2 separate regions of the Homo sapiens genome follow, and region 1 is linked to region 2. Evidence: promoter capture Hi-C in human tissues and cell types (Jung and others, 2019). All regions are on one chromosome and are shown on one strand. The core of a region is centred on a gene start or on the middle of the fragment in contact, and the rest is flanking DNA. Distances in the headings are between cores, read along the strand shown.

What was found. The method cuts DNA at HindIII sites, captures the fragments that hold promoters and counts their contacts. A contact is called where the count stands out against the background at its distance.
Region 1: a contact is called between the fragment with the promoter of OR4D1 here and the fragment with the promoter of VEZF1 in region 2, in 1 of the 25 tissues and cell types used here (adrenal gland).

What each region holds. Positions count from the first base shown.
Region 1 is chr17:58,146,896-58,150,043 of GRCh38, forward strand. It overlaps OR4D1 (olfactory receptor family 4 subfamily D member 1), which reads left to right and starts at 1,489. Exons shown (of 4, transcript NM_001386095.1): 1 at 1,489-1,689; 2 at 2,534-2,901. The HindIII fragment of the contact is 15,992 bases long and covers 71-3,148 here.
Region 2 is chr17:57,986,872-57,989,727 of GRCh38, forward strand. It overlaps VEZF1 (vascular endothelial zinc finger 1), which reads right to left and starts at 1,383. Exons shown (of 6, transcript NM_007146.3): 1 at 1,208-1,383. The coding sequence starts at 1,240. LOC101929185 (a long non-coding RNA gene) reads left to right here and starts at 1,239. Exons shown (of 1, transcript XR_001752716.3): 1 at 1,239-2,856. It also overlaps a transcript of SRSF1 not described here. RefSeq lists silencers at 646-715, 796-1,275, 1,346-1,625 and enhancers at 1,776-1,825, 1,846-1,985. The HindIII fragment of the contact is 6,267 bases long and covers 1-2,856 here.

The DNA of each region.
Region 1 (3,148 bases), core at 239-2,738, 160 kb after region 2:
TGTAAGAGAGTACTATGAGCACTATATGCCAACAAATTGGCTAATTTAGATTAAATGGAAAAATTCCTGGAAACACAAATTACCAAAACTGATTTCAAAAGAAATAGAAAGTCTCAACAGACCTATAACAAGTAAATGTTGAATCAGTGTTTAAAAAACCTCCCAACCAAGAAAAGTCCAGTACCAGATGGCTTTAGTGGTAAATTCTGCCAAACATTTAAAGGAGTATGAACACCAATACTATGCAAGTTCTTGTAAAAAAAAAAAAAAAAAACAGAAGCAAAGGGAACACTTTTTAACACATTCTATGAGGCCAGCATTATCTTGATACCAAAGCCAGACAAAGATACAAGAAAAGAACTACAGACCATATTCTTTATAAATACAAATGCGAAAATTATGAGATGCCACTTCACTCTCACTATTCTAAGTAAGATGGTTATTCCTCAAAAGATTAGGCACAGTTGCTATAAAATCCAGCAATTCCACATCTAGCTATATACCAAAGAAAAATGAAAGAATACATCCACACAAAATCCTATACATGAATATTCCTAGCAGCTTTATTCATAATAGCTAAAAAGTGGAAAGAACTCAAATGTCCGAGAGCTGACTGACTGATTTACAAAAGTGGTATATCCATATGATGTAATATTATCCAGTCATAAAAAGGAATGACTGGTACATGACTAGTACTGGTACATGCTACAGTACAGATGAAACTTAAAAACATAAGTGAAAGAAGCAGGACACAAAAGCCATATATCATCATATGTGTGTTATATGATTCAATTTTTAGGAAATGTCCAGAACAGGCAAATCCAGAGACAAAAAGTAGATTAGTGGTTTCCAGAGACTGAGGAGAGAACAGAATGGGCAGTGACTGCTAAAGGATATGAGATTTCTTTTCAGAACGAAGAAAATGTTCTGGAATTAGGTAGTGGTGATGGTTACACAAGTTTGTGAATATACTAAAAACCACTGAATGGTTAAAATCATTTAATAATTGTGAAGCTTATGGTAGTTGAATTATATCTTGAGGATGAACTTAGCCAATTTACATTGAGAGTTCACTTTGGCTGAGAGAAGAGCAGATCAGAGATTGGGATAAGAGATGGTACCTTAATGACTGTACATATGAAAAAGGCTTTGGAGTTTATAGAGGGGGTGACCTGGACTGTGTCCTAGGACATAACTCACTTTTCCAACTACAGTGGTGATAGGAGAGGGTGGAGGCCTTGCACTGCCCATGGTGCTGAGGGATTTGGTTCTTGTAAACCTCCCTGGGAATTCACGTCTCTTTAGGGTTCTTATCCTTCTTCATCTTGGTCCTTTGATCAGTAACTCTGAAATGTTGGCCCCAAGACAGTCTCCCAATAATTATGTGCATCTGATGCAACATCTCACATACTTTTTAATAACTCCCATTGCTCATTTGCCCTTAGCAGCCTGAGCCAGGCTTTATCTTATGAATTAAGCCTAAGTTTTACTCCCCAAGGAATTTCCCTTTCCTTAAGGCCAATCCCATATGTGTTCCTTGTCTGAGAGAGGCCAGGAGAAGAATGGAGCTACAGGAGAAGAGTGACCTGGGAGATGGGAGGCTCTAAGTCCTCTTGGCCACTGTGGGCTGGAGGAAGGTGATGGCCTCATTGTCCTTCCCATGGACAAATCAGCACGACAAAGCCTATCGTGAGACAAGCATGGGGTGGAGGGAAGGCATGGGGGAAGTCATCAGGCATTAATGCAAGGGGAACGGGATTTGGGAAACATTGATTTTATCTAACATTAAGACTTTTGTCTGTATTGGCTTATGTGCTGGGTGGAATTTAGAACAGAGGGTGGGAGGGAGAGCGGAATATAGACATACACTGTTATCTCCCCCGCCTCCCACATACATACTACAGCTTCTTCCCACACCTAGGAGAAAACACAAACAGGTCTTGCTCTGACACTTTCCACCCTCTACTGTTCCTTTTTAAGTCTCATCTTCCTCCATCTTCCCCCTTCTCCTGCCTGCTTCTCTCACTCACTCCAGATTTTCTTCCCTTCTTTATTGCTGTCCCTCCATCTTATCCTCTCTTTTCTTAAATCTTGTGTTTAACAATACCTGTTAATGCTCCCTGGATGACAACAGACTAGATTCTACCCCATTTTGGGAACCCACTTATTCCTTCTCCCCTCGTCTCTCCTAGTCCTGTGTGGGCTGATTTTCTAAGAGCAAAGACAGATGGGAGAGAAGATTGAGTAACAACAGAAGAGGTCTAGAATCCTCCCCTTTCCCCATACAGATCCATGTCCCTCCCTATGTCTATTTTCTTTCTTGTCTAGAATCCCTCTAAATCTATTTTCTATGCATGTAGGGGGAGGAAGCATTTGCAAAGATTCTGATGGGTTTGTGGAAAGAATCGGGCCATGCTAAGATGATGCTTCTAGGATTGTAAATCTGGTGATGCTGGGAATTAGGATTCTTGGATTCTCTTTGAGGTCCTATAAACTGCATTCTATCCAGTGGCTACTCTCTCTTTCTTCCCAGCTCTCACGGCAGTCTGGCCCATCCCAGCACCCTGTCCTCCATTAAGCAATCACACATTCTTTTGGGAACCAACTATGAGAAAGGGTCTGTGTGTACCACGTACTGTGTAATACTTAACATATTGGATTTGCACTGAAATTACAACACATGTGAGGAACAGAGCCATCCTCATGAAAAAATACCAAGGCATAGCAACATTATGGAAGAGCTAATTACTCTTGAACCTTGAAGGAAGGGTAGAATTCAGACAGGTGAACAGGACAGAAAAGCAATTCAGATGCGGCACTGACTGGATGAAGGCACTGAGACCTGAGGGACCGAAGAAGAGATAAGTTTGGCTGAAGCTGAATCTTCTTAGAGGAGAGCAGGTAAGAGGAGAATAGTCATTAGGAGTGCAAATTCTGGGTCAATCAGACCTGGCTCAGAATCCCAGCTCTGCTTCTTCTTCTCCATGTGATCTGGGAGAAATTAGTTAACCTATTCAAGCCACAGTTTACTTATCTGTAAAGTGGAGATAATTTATGGTACTTACTATACTTATAAACATGGGAATAATATGTGAGAATTAAAAAAGATAATGCCAGCAAAATATTTAGTATAGTGTCTATCACATAG
Region 2 (2,856 bases), core at 133-2,632:
TAACTCAGAGAGGCGGGAAGAACGCACTTAAAAGTGACGAGCTTCCTAACCTCCTCCAGTTCCGAAGTTTCCCCGTGAGCTCATCGCTACTGCCCACTGAATGCTTCGTTTTGCAAACAGAAACGAAGTAGGAAAAAAATAAGTTCCAGCCTAGATCTGCCAAACAGGGGTCCCCCATCTAAAGTGGGCGGGCAAGAGAATTGCCAAAACACATCGGCTACAGTCACTTTCAAGTTTCTTGCAAAAAAGCGAAGACCAACATCCCAGAGAGTGACTCATCTGGGGGCTTTGTAAGCGGACTTTGTTTGCTCTCTCCACTTGGTTGGAGGAAACGTTCGAGGTGGGCGAGAAAGAAAAGCGCTTCGGGAGAAGGTCGGGCCTCCAGGAGTCCCGGCCCCCACCGCTCCCCGCCTGCCCCGGGCCGGCCCGGCTGGGGGATTCCCCAGGCTGAATGGGACGGCGGGAGAGCTGGACAGAGGGAGAAGGTGTCAGCTGCCAAGGCTCGGCTGAGACTTGGGAAAAAAAAATGTAAATCCAGTGAAAAAGTTTGGGGAGGGGATACACACTCACAACATCCGCCCCCCCAACTGGGTAAACACGAGAGGGGTGGTGGCGGTGAGGGGGAGTGGCGGGGAACCTGGGGATACCCGCTATTCGCGGGGACACGGGAGGGGGTCAGAAAGTCAACACACGCACGCACACACACAAAAAGACGAGGAAGGTGAAAAGAGAACAAGCGAAAGATGGATGAAGTGGCGGGGAGGAGACTCAGGGCAGGACCTGGGGACCTCCTCACCCCACCGTGGGGGACCGGGCCGGCACGCAATGGCCCAGCAGCCCGCGCTATCCAGCGGCCCGGCGCCCTCCTTTCTCTGGGCCGCGGGGTGGTGACAGCGACCGGCCTCCTCCCTTCCCCTTCAGAGCGAGAGGGAAGGGTGTGTGTGAGTGTGTGTGTGTGCGTGTGTGTGCTGGGGGGCCCCCGGGTTCACCCCGCGGCCTGCTATCTCCCCCGCACCCCGTGAGGCCGCCTCCTTTCACCTCAGCAGCCCCGCTTCGCCGGGGCGGGCGGGCGGAAAAACAAAGGGGGATTAAGGCCGGGCCGGAGAGCGGAGCCGGGAGGGAGGGGAGGAGGAGCGCCCGCCCGCCCGCCAGCCCGGGGCCCGGCCCCCCTGTCCCCCCCGTGCCCCCCCGGGGGGGCCCCCAGTACCTGGAACAGGAACGCGGTCCAGTTGGCCTCCATGGCTGCGGCGGCCGACCCCCCTCCTCCCCACTCCCCCCGCTCGGGGAGCCTCCTCAGCCGGAGGAGGCGACAACAAAGCGGCGGCGGCGGCGGCGGCAACGGCAGCGGCGGCTCCTCAACATGGCAGCGCCGAGCGCGGCCACTTCCGGTAACCTCCGGGACGCACCACCGCGGCGGCGAGCGCGGGCGGGGGGGGAGCCCCGGCCCGGCCGCCGCCGCCCCCAGTCGCCCGGACCCCCTCTGGGCGTCCCCGCTGCCGGCTCGCCGCCTCGGAGCTCAGCCAGTGCCCGCTGGCGGTGGGGTCAGGGCCCCCGCGGGGGGGCTGGGGTGGGGCCCGGGGCGGGGATGGGGCGCGGCGTCCCCCCCCGCGGGGGTGTGTGGTGCTGCGGTCCGTGGCTCAGGCAGCTGGAGCAGGGGGAGCTCAGGAGAGAAGATGGAGGACGCCAGGGTCTGGCGCTGGCCCGCTGGGCACAGCTGGGCCGTCTCCCGTGACTCAGACACGGTGTCCAGCACCGTCGCGTCCCTGTTAGACCCTCAGCGGAGGGCACAGGCCACGGCGGACACTCGGCTCTTCAGTCGCTCATGCACAGCATGGTCCCCACCTCCAAACTGGGGGAAGCCCTTTCGACTTCGAGCCTCTCTTCCTTTTGGCATTTCCTCCCCGGCCGGCTAAGCCCTCTGCGCTCTCGCTATGATATGCATCTCATGGCGAGATGGCCTTCCAACTCAAGCAGGGAATCCCACTGGGGTGCAGCCTCAGATCCTCTCAGTGTGGAGGGAAACACTTCCCACGCGTAGAGATGTCATTACTGGGTTATTCTTGGGTGAAGGGCTGAGCCTCCCCATCCTCCCCTTCACTCCAAGATAGGATGTGAAATTCTATCCCAACACCCCTCCTCTCCCGCCAAAAATAAAAACAAGTGAGATAGTATAGACAAATTATTTTAGTCCTTTAGTACAGTCTGTTTCCTCCTTCACCCCCAGAACAAAAATCGAACTTCTGGTTGGACAGCGTCAGATGTCACTGAGGTGACCCCAGCCTGTTTGCAGTTCCAAGTCTTCCGTGTAGGCGTCACTGCTACTGGAACTTTGTAGATGAGGAGCCTGTATGATGATGTCCTGAACATTTCTATCCTTTCCTCACACAGAGGGAAGCTACTGGGAATATCAGAGACAAGCTATTATTAAACAAGTGTCTCTAGTCCAAGACATCTCCTGTGGCAGGGAAATGAGGGGGCAGGCTGTATCAGTGATATTTTTATAAACTCTGGTTTTAGAAAAAATTCTTCAGATGGACGCATTATTTTAAGACTTTAACATTTTCCAAAACCAACTGAATCTTATCCCCTCCATTTATCCCCCTCCAGACACTTCTAATCAAGGTCACCATCTCCAACTTCCCCCATAGACAATAAAAATATGGCTGGAGAATTCTACTGTAATAGAAAACCAAGGAGATATAGTAATTTGACAGTGTGTTTCCTTTCCATCCACTAGACAAGAATACCCCCTCCCATTCTTTCCTCCCCTCAGTCACCAGAATGAAGGGGCTGGAAAACGTTGGTCTGGTTCCTTTTAGAGCTGATTCCCCATTGGATACTGCCTGGAGGCCTTGG